3 separate regions of the Homo sapiens genome follow, and regions 2 and 3 are each linked to region 1. The links are contacts of gene promoters, found by promoter capture Hi-C in human tissues and cell types (Jung and others, 2019). All regions are on one chromosome and are shown on one strand. The core of a region is centred on a gene start or on the middle of the fragment in contact, and the rest is flanking DNA. Distances in the headings are between cores, read along the strand shown.

The links. The method cuts DNA at HindIII sites, captures the fragments that hold promoters and counts their contacts. A contact is called where the count stands out against the background at its distance.
Region 2: a fragment that was not itself captured here is called in contact with the fragment with the promoter of HK3 in region 1 in 2 of the 25 tissues and cell types used here (IMR-90 fibroblasts and lymphoblastoid cells).
Region 3: a fragment that was not itself captured here is called in contact with the fragment with the promoter of HK3 in region 1 in 2 of the 25 tissues and cell types used here (liver and mesendoderm cells).

What each region holds. Positions count from the first base shown.
Region 1 is chr5:176,897,526-176,901,185 of GRCh38, reverse strand. It overlaps HK3 (hexokinase 3), which reads left to right and starts at 1,840. Exons shown (of 19, transcript NM_002115.3): 1 at 1,840-1,919. RefSeq lists an enhancer at 519-1,020. The HindIII fragment of the contact is 11,300 bases long and covers 88-3,660 here.
Region 2 is chr5:176,751,040-176,754,409 of GRCh38, reverse strand. No RefSeq gene overlaps it. Among named protein-coding and RNA genes, the nearest start is that of LINC01574, 9.5 kb to the right of the region's middle. The HindIII fragment of the contact is 5,468 bases long and covers 1-3,370 here.
Region 3 is chr5:176,719,188-176,722,559 of GRCh38, reverse strand. No RefSeq gene overlaps it. Among named protein-coding and RNA genes, the nearest start is that of LINC01574, 22 kb to the left of the region's middle. RefSeq lists an enhancer at 923-1,422. The HindIII fragment of the contact is 3,324 bases long and covers 190-3,372 here.

The DNA.
Region 1 (3,660 bases), core at 591-3,090:
TCAGAGAAGGGCTCCTCATTGTCGTTGATGATTATAATTTAAGGGATGAGGAAAAATGAGGTGAAAAGGTGGGAGAGGCCAAAGGGAGGGTCATTCCAGACAAGTCAGTGCAAACAAAGACACAACAGAAGTAGCTCGATGTGTGTAGGAGAGCTGCAAGGCACATTCACGGTATAAAGGGTGTGGAACAAATTGGGGGAGCTTATTGAGGATCTCTGTGCCTGGCATGGGCACTGTGAGTGGTGAGAAGCCTGTGAGCAAGCGCAGAGGGAAGGCCTGACCTCCCAGCCCATCGGCAGTGCTCTGGTTGTGCCCACCTCTCCCCCAGCAAACTGCCTTTCCTCATTCCTTAGCTCCATCTCTACAGTTGGAGATTGGCACTAAGGGGCTATGAGGGAACCTCGTGAGGACTTGTCCTTCCCTTTGTTGGTCAGTGGCCATCTGGTGTCTGAAGAGAACCGCTGGCAGCTGCAGTGCCTCTGCTACAGCCAGGCTGTCCCAGCTGCTCACAGACCTCAAGCTCAGCCATCCTTCTCCCTCCACTGGCCTTGACCCAGACTTTCCCTGGCATTCTGACTAGGGAACCAGGACCCCTGCTCCTGGGGTCTGGACACAGACCTTCCAGAAACGCAGATGAAGAGCCCTGGCCATGCTTGTCAGGGGCATATCCTCACCCTGGCTCAAGAAATGGCAGGCTATCTGCATGAATCACAGCTGGGCCTTTCATAGTCAGTTCCACATTCTCCTCTCCCAACTGAACAAAGTTGAAAGGGACTGGGATCCCAGGCTAGGCAGGATGCTGTGTTGTTTGTGACAGCCACTCTACCCTCTGCCACCCCATCCCCCACTTCCCTGCCTTTCACAGCCTATATGCCTGGTTGGTACCCAGTAAACTTCACAGCAGGACTGATGTTTGGCATGTTTCCTGGCCTCTTCATGCCACTACTGATAGAGGAGCCACTATCTCTGGTCTCCATCCTGATGTCATGTGGAGGCCTACTATCTGTGGATAGAGTTACTGCTGACAAGGCAGCCTGAAGCTTTAAAGTGTATCCATGCCTTCAACAAAGATTGTTGCAGGCTGTCTAGTATTCTACATTGGTGCCCCAAGGTTCTGTGCCTTTGAGGAGAAATTCCCACAGAAAAACAGCTTGTTCGCCAATAGCTCCACAGCAGCCTAACACTCCCCTTCTTCCAGTAGAGAAGACCTAAGATGTGAACCTACTCTCCCTGCGCAGGCTACAGACTAAAGGCTAGACTCCGCAGTCTGCCTGTCACCTCCTCTCCCACTATATATTCCTACCTTGGTGTACCCTCTTCAGGCGCCTGGAGCTGCACCTCATTGCTGTGTGTGTGTGATTTGTGGTTGTGCACATGCTCTCCACTTTGTCAAGGACCACTTTTGTCAGCATACTGCTGTTCTTTCTTCAAGACTCAGCTTCTTCAGCTAGCCCTGCCCACTCTCGGCAGAGTCAGTCCCTTCCGCTTGTGCTCCCACATTGCCTCTTGCTCAAAAGTACTTACCATAACCTTTCCAGGCTAGGCGCCTCCAGCTCCTTCTAGGGGCGAGCCACCACCTCAGAACTCACTATATTTGCAAAATAAACAGCCCTCAGCATTGTAGAGGGAATGGCCCAAAATCTTAGACCCAGTTCAACGCTCCACTTCGCGGTAATCATCTTGCTCAAGTTTTCACCACAGCCTTGCCTAGCCTGGGCTACTCTTAGGGCAGGCTTGGAAGGAAGTGCAGCTTCCTGAATTAGCTGATGTTTGGTAAGTGGTGGTGGAGGAAAAGGGTGGGGCTTGAGGATATTATAACTCGGGTCACCCCTGAGTGTTGCTTTTGGTCATTGGGGTGCCTCATATTGCCAGACAAGAGCTCAGACCTGAGGAGAGTGACTAGCTTCTCTGTGTCCCAGGTAAGCACTTCGGTCTAATTACTGCCTGCTCCTTCCACAGCTGTCTTGTCCTCATCCCTCCTGTTTGGCTCACACCAGGGGAAGTGGACACTGGAAAGATTAAGCCAGCTGGTTCTCTTTCTTTGTTTTTGAGATGGGGTCTCTCTCTCTATCACCCAGACTGGAGTACAGTGGCACAGTCAGGGCTCACTCCAGCCTTGACCTCCTGGGTTCAAGTGATCCTCCCACCTCAGCCTCCGGAGTAGCTGAGACTACAGGCGCACACCACCACACCCAGCTAATTTTTGTTATTTTTTTCTAGCGATGGCGTTTTGCCATGTTGCCCAGGCTAGTCTCACATTCCTGGGCTCAAGCAGTCTGTCTGCCTCAGCCTCCCAAAGTGCTGGGATTACAGGTGCAAGCCACCACACCCAGCCTGCCAGCTGGTTCTCGATGGCAGCTCCCAACATCAGTAGAGGTCCCTGGGGTACTTTTCAGGAGGAAAACTCACTTCGTGTAGCCCATTCAGCTAAGGGAAGCCACGGGGCCCTTAGGCAAACAGACCCTGGGCTCTGGGGATACTGCAGTGAAGGAGACATGTCCCTCCCCACAGGGAATCTCAGTGGGAAGAGACAGAGCTGAATACATTTACCTAGCATATAAATATTAGGGCTACTTGGGGATTGCTTCACAGATTCTGTCATGTAAAAATGCTGAATAAATATTGAATGGATGAGGGAATGAATGAGTGAGTGAATGAATAAATGAACTAGCTGGGCCTTGAGAAAGACACGTGTGTAGCCCTTAGTCCTTTTCGAAGGTAATTGCCCCAGTTACCTCATTTTATCCTTGAAATAGACCTGCAGCATAGAACAAGAATTCCACACCCCTATTTGACAGATTTGGAAACTCAGCATAGGTATGTATGGTTTGGGGAGATTTATCAGAAGCTGATTTGTTGCTTTATTAAATAAAAAACTACCCACTCCCCTTGCTTCCAATTTTGGAAAGGCACATTAGCACATACCTATACCAGACCCTGTGCCGGCCATGAGTGCAGAGGTGATCAAGTTGGGTGGGGTAAGGAGGTGAAGAAACTAGAAGCAGAGCTATCAGTTTAGGAGGCTGTTGTAATAATCAGGCCGGAGGATGGTCTGGTGCAGTGTGTGGGAATGGGGAGGAGGGGATGCAGAGGAGAGCTCTTAGAGAGCCTGAGATCCAATTGCATAGAGGAGGTGAGGGTGAGGGATGCGCGCAGGCAGCCCGAACGGCCGTGTGAGTGAGCACACTTCGATGTCTCCAGTCAAGGTGGAGAACAGAAGAGCTTTGTGGGGGTAAGGTGATGGAAAAATGAGTATGGCTTTGTTGAATTTGAGGAGCTTCTCCACCATCCAGATAGTGATGTCTAACAGACCACTGGGATTTAGGATTTGGCTGAGGCCAAAGGTAGATTTGGGAGCCCTGACACAGCTATTAATGAAACCTTGGGAATGGGCGAGATAAAGGGAGTGTAGAGGGAGGGCATGACCGAAACTTGGGAACCCCATTGTCTGAAGGAACAGAAATTACTGATGAAGACTACGAGAGACTCAGGAAGGAGACCTAGGAGAGACTGGCCGTGAAAGCCAAGGACAGGGGGAATTCTGTAGCAAAGAGAATGACTACTGGCTTTGCATGCCTGAGAGAGGGCAGCAGAGGTGGGGACTGAGGAAAAGGCTTGGGATTGGGCAGTTAGGAGGTCACCAGTGACCACGTGGAGGGC
Region 2 (3,370 bases), core at 748-3,247, 150 kb after region 1:
ATTTTGCCCATTTAACAAATTGGGTTGTTTATCGTCTTCTTATTGAGCTGTAATAGTTTTCAATCTATTCTAGATACAAGTCCTTTGTCAGATATATATTTTGCAAATACTTTCCCCAGGTTTGCGGTTGGCCTTTTAATTTTTTATCACTGTCTTTTCCTCCCACTTTTAACAGCTTTACTAAAGTCTAATTTACACATTATACAATTCGTCCATTGTAAGTGTGCAGGTCAATGATTTTTAGTAAATAATTTGATTGTTCACCTATCACCACAATACCATTTTAGAACACTTTCCCTACCCCCAAAAGTTCCCCTGTGCCTGTTTATAGTCATGCCTCACTCTCATCATGGGCCTCAGACACTCACTGATATGCTTATTAGATATATAGTTTTGCCTTTTCTAGAAATTTCATATATATATATACGTATGTATGTATGTATGTATATAAACATACAGACTGGGTGTGGTGGCTCACACCTGTAATCCCAGTGACTCAGGAGGCCAAGGCAAGAGGATCGCTTGAGGCAGGAGTTTGGGCCTGGGCAACATAGTGAGACTTTGTCTTTACAAAAAATTTGAAAAACTAGCCAGGCATGGTGGAGGACGCCTGTAGTCCCAGCTATTCGGGAAGCCGAGGTGGGAGGATCACTTAAGCACAGGTGTTCAAGGTTATCGTGAGCTACTGCACTTCAGCCTGGGCAACAGAGTGAGACCTTGTCTCTAAAAATATATACACATATATCCTTTTGTGTCTGGCTTCTCTCACTTAGCATAATGTTTTTGAGATTCATCTATATCTTGTTGCATCTATCAATAACTCATTTCATTGCTGAGTAGTATTCCATTATGTGAATATACCATACTTTGCTTATGAATTTACCATTTGATGGACATTTGAATTGTTTCCAGTTTTTGCCTATTATAATTAAAGTTGTCATTAGCAATCACATGCAAGTCTTTGTGTGAACACATCTTTTCTTCTAGAAGAATTGCTAAGTCATATGGCAAGTATATATTTAAGAAACTGCCAAACAGAATAGTGTCTTTTAAAGACTAAATATTTTAAGCTTAGTGAAGTCCATTTTATTATTTTTCTTGTATATGTCATTGTTTTTGTCATATTTAAGAAAACTTTACCAAACCCAAGATTGCTAAGATTTTCTTCTAGAAGTTTTATAGCTTTGCTTTTACATTTTGGTCTATGATCCATTTCAAGGACCATACATCTAATTTTTTAGGCCTACTTTATGAGGATCATAGACCCTAATTTCAAGGATCATAGACCATTTCAGTTTGTATACGGTGTGAGATAAGGTCAAGGTTTCTTTTAAATTTTATTTTTATCTTTTTACATATGTTTATCCAAGTGTTCTAGCATCAGTTGTTGAAAAGAATATCCTTTATTCATTAATTGCCTTGGTATCTTTTTCAAAAATCAACAGCTGTGGTCTGTTTCTTGAATCATTCTTCTGTTCCATTGATCTAGATGTCTATCTTTATACCAATACCACACTGTCTTGACTATTGTAGCTTTAATAATGTCTCGAAATAAGGTAGTGTAAATTCCCCATCTTATTCTTCTTTTTCAAAATGTTTGGTTATTCTAGATCATTCCATAGAGATTTTAGAATGAGCTTGTCAATCTCCACCAAAAAAAAAAAAAATTGTTTTTATAGATGAGTTTGGGAGAATCAACATCTTAACCACATTGAATCTTCCAATCCATGAACGCAATGTATTTCTGTATTTATATTTCCTTTAATTTCTCTCAGCAATGTTTTGAGTTTTATATGTGCAGATCTTACACATCTTCTGTCAAATTTATCACCCCCTTTTTTATTTTTAGAATTTCCATTTGATTCTTTTTTCTAATAGTTTCTAGTTCTCTGCTGAAATTCCCGTTCTTGTTATCTAGCTTCTTGAATATACTAATTACAGTTATTTCAAAGGCCAACTATGGTACCTCGAATATCTGAGACCACGTGGATATGTTTGTAATGTGTTATTTTTCTCTTGGTTTTCATCCCGTTCTTGTATTTCTGCATTTCTGTTTTTCACTGAATATCAGACATAATAAATGAACATGGAAAAGGTAATTTGAGGCTCTGGATGCTGTTATCCTCCTCCAGGGAGGATTTACTTTAACTTCTGCTAAGCCAGGGGCAGCATCAATCTTAAATTGCATTTATCCAACCAGGAATTAAGATGATTTGAAACAGGCCTGCAGTCCCTGAAAGGGCCGGTTTCGTTCTGGCTAACTTACTTCTAGGGTATAGTGCTTTGGGATCCCGGATGAAAGCCTAGGCTATTTACCAACGTTCTTGCTTTTAGAAAAATTGTTCTGAAATACACAGAACATAAGATTTACCATCTTAACCCTGTTTAAGTGTGTATGTCAGTGCATTAAGTACCTTCCCATTGTTGTGCAGCCATCAGCACCATCCATCTCCAGAACTCTTTCCATCATCCCCAAGTGAAACGCCACATCTATTAAACACTAACTCCTAATTCCACCTCCTTCAAGCCCCTGGCAACTACCATTCCACTTTCTGTCTCTATGAAGGTGATTACTCTGAATATCTCACGTAAGTGGAATCATGCAGTATTTGTCTTCATGCAACTGGCTGACTTCACTTAGCGTAACGTTGTCTAGGTTCATCCACATCGTACCGTGTGTCAGAACTTCCTTCCTTTTTAAAGCTGAGTAATGTTCCCTTGAGTGTATATGCCACATTTTGTTTATCCTTTTTCATCTGTCGATGGGCGCTTGAGTTGCTTCTGCCTTTAAGCTATTTTGTCGTGCTGTTCTGAATATGGGGATATAGATAGGGTCCTTATTTCTCAAGAGGCCCTGGATTCCAGTTTTTGTCTCCCCAGCCCCATGAGATGGCTAACGTGCTTCTCAGCCTCTCAGGCACTGCTCAGAAGTGGCAAACACTGCAGGGGACAGAGCTCTGCCGAACAGCAGGCTCCCCTCTGTGAGCTTCCCTCCTCTCTGGGATCTGGGATCTGGGACCCTTGGTGCCTCTCCAGTATCTTCAAACAGCTGTTTCTGTAGTATTTCATCCAGCCTTCCGAATTGCTCCCAGCAGGGTGATTGGTCTGATGCAGGCTAGTCCATCATAGCTAGAAGCAGATGTGTCAGTATAATTTTAACGTGTGTGTCTATTATGCCCGGAGTTGAGCATCTTTTCTGATGTTTAAATGATGTTTGTATTTTCTCTGAAATCCTTACCCCGTTTTTCGACTGGTTCTTTCTTATTGATTTGTAGGCATGTGTTATACGTCCAGGAATTTAGGCTGTTGTTTTTGATCTAAAAATTGCTTTCTAGGGCCAGTTCTCACTTGCTGTATAATCTTAGGCAAG
Region 3 (3,372 bases), core at 602-3,101, 180 kb after region 1:
TCCCGCCTTGGATCAGTTGTTTCCCCCTGAATTTCATATTCTAGGCTTTAATGCTGCTTGATGATAATACCCAGAGCTGGTGAGGCTGCAGAGACGCAGGGAACAGATGCATTGCGGGGAGTAGCGTGTTTCTAGAGATTTCCAACAATGCTGATTGTCTCAGGCTCCAGGAGCCAGTGGCAGAAAATCCAGTTCAAACTTGGGGTGACTACTGGCTTATAAACCTGAAAAGTCAGGAAGCAGATGGCTTTGGAAACTGCTGGATCCAGGGGTTCAAAAATATCTTCAAAACCTGCATATCTACTAAACTGTGCAGGAAAAAAAATGGTTAATGGTAGTTTATGTTATGTGTATTTTACCATATTTGAAAAATTAAAGACCAGACACAGTGGCTCATGCCTGTAATCCCACCACTTTGGAAGCTGGAGGCGGGCGGATCACTTGAAACCAGGAGTTCAAGACCAGCCGGGGAACATAGGAAGATGCCCGTCTCTACAAAAAATACAAAAATTAGCCAGGTGTGGTGCCATGTGCCTGTGATCTCAGCTACTTGGGAGGCTGAGGTGAGAGGATCACCTGAGCCTGGGGAATTTGAGGCTGCAGTGAGCCGTGATTATGCCACTGCCCTCCAGCCTGGGTGACAGAGTGAGACGCTGTCTCAAAAAAAAAAAAAAAAGAAAGAAAAGAAAAATGTAAAACAAAACAAAGCAAAAAACATGCACAATGCCATGTCCCACTTTAGGCCTTAGGTGACTGCCTCCAACTGGAATACATCGTTCAAGTCGCTCAAATGTCAACTCTTCAGAGGCCCCCTGAAGGCCAGTCCACAATAGCCACGCTCCGTCAGCTACCCGCTCTCACCCCTATGGGCTGTTTCTCTTCTCTGCAGTTGCCACTTTCTGGAGCAATCCTACTTACTCACTTGTTTACCTGTGTGCTTACTGGGCTTAGGGCCTGCTTCTCCCTGCTAGTGTGTCTGGAATTGGTGGGTTCTTGGTCTCACTGATTTCAAGAATGAAGCCGCGGACCCTCGCGGTGAGTGTTAACAGTTCTTAAAGGCCGCGTGTCCGCAGTTTGTTCCTTCTGATGTTCGGAAGTGTTCAGTTTCTTCCTCCCAGTGGGTTCGTGGTCTCGCTGGCCTCAGGAGTAAAGCTGCAGACCTTCCCAGTGAGTGTTACAGCTCATAAACGCAGTGTGGACCCAAACGGTGAGCAGCAGCAAAATTTATTGCAAGGAGCGAAAAAACAAAGCTTCCACAGTGTGGAAGGGGCCCCGAGCGGGTTGCCACTGCTGGCTCGGGCAGCCTGCTTTTATTCCCTTATCTGGCCCCACCCACATCCTGCTGATTGGTCCATTTTACAGAGAGCTGACTGTTCTGTTTTACAGAGAGTGGATTGGTCCGTTTTGACAGGGTGCTGATTGGTGCCTTTACGATCCCCAAGCTAGACACAAAAGTGCCGAGGCCAAGGAGGCACCAAGAGCGAGCGAGGGCTGCGACGACTGCCAGCACGCTGTCACCTCTCACTAGGATGTCAGCACCGTGAGAATAGGGACTCTGTCTTGTTCGTGGCTGTTTCCCCAGGGCCAGGAATGGGCCTGGCACAGAGTGGGGCTTAGCACATAGAGGCAGGAGGAGTAAATGAAGGAAGGTTCTCTCTGCCTCCCTTGGTGCTCTCCCCTTGTGTTGGCACCATCTTCAGGGATTCTCCCTAGACAGTGGCAAATTGGCTGCAGGCAGCTCTGATGTTCGCTGTCAATATTATGTCGATATGACATCAGCGACATTATGGCATCATTCCTGGGACGTCCTCACAGCCCTGAGGGGGAAGAAAGGGCATTGCTAAGTGTCGCAAGGTTGCAAATCATTGGCTCTGACTCAGTCATGTGACATTCCCTGAACCAATCCCTGTAAAGCAGAGATGCAGTACTCTGATTGGCCAGGCCTGATGCCCAAGTCCACTGCTGTAACAGAAAGTCACCTCAGTCCCACTGAAGCGGCACATGGGCACGGGTGGGGGTTCCCCAGGAGAAAATCAGTGAGCCAGCAGCCAGAAGATGGGGCACAGATGTGGGGCAGGCACATCAGGTCAAGGCCACAAATGCCTCAGACACACCAGGTTATGTAACAGGCTGTTACGTCAATATCCCCCCAAATTCCTACGTCAAAGCCCTAACCCCCAGTGTGATGGTTTTAAGGTGGTCAAAAGGAACCTCTGCCGGGCATGGTGGCTCACGCCTGTAATCCCAGCACTTTGGGAGGCCGAGGCGGGCGGATCACTTGAGGTTGGGAGTTCGAGAACAGCCTGACCAACATGGTGAAACCCTGTCTCTACTAAAATACAAAAATTAGCTGAGTGTGGTGGTGCACACCTGTAATCCCAGCTATTCGAGAGGCTGAGGCAGGAGAATCACTTGAACCCAGGAGGCAGAGGTTGCAGTGAGCCGAGATCGCCACACTGCACTGCAGCCTGGGCGACAGGGTGAGACCCTCTCTCCAAAAAAAAAGTAACCTCGGTCCCCTGGTCATGAGGGTGGAGCCTCATGGATGGATTAGTGCCCTTATCAAAGGGACCCCAGAGAGCTCTCTGGCCCTCTTTCTGCCATGATGACACAATAAGAAGTTGACGTCCAAAACCAGAAGAGTGGCCCTCACCAGAACCCCTGCCAGTGCCCTGATCTCTGACCCAGTCTCCAGAACCTTGAGAAACAAACTGTTATGGTTTGTAAGCCACCTAGCTGATGGTGCTTTATTACAGCAGCCAGAAGGCATAAGACAAGGCTCTGGAGAATCCAAGATAGATAAAACTTTAATAAACATTTGCTGAATGAGGACAACACAATCTCTGACTGCTCAGAAGAGCAGGAAGACAGATCTGTGTCATCACAGAATGTGTTTATGCTGAGGGAAGGGATGGTGGTGGGGGCACTGTGTCCCTCCCTGTGAGCCGTGCCCAAGCCCAGGGGCCTGCCTGACCCAGGGATTCCACGAATTTACTCAAAAGGAGAAATAAATGATCTTGCACAAGGACAGTTGTTGCGGCATTATTTGTAATACAGAAAAAACTGGAAACAACCCAAATGTTCCCCGGTAGGGGACTGGTTAACTAAATTATGGAACATCCACTTGATGAAATATTCTGGAGTGGTTAAAAATGATCGTTATGAAAACTACAGAGCAACAAGGGAAAAGGCGTCTGTTCTAACACACAGTGACAGCACAGAATGCCAAACTGTGACCGCAAGAAGCACAAACCACGCGCCAGGCTCTGTGCTTGGGACACAAGAGACTCGCGGGAGCCCTCCTGCCCCCAGGAAGCTCCTGGCCCCGTCAGGGCAGGAGAGACGTGAAAACAAGGAACGACACTTGGGGTG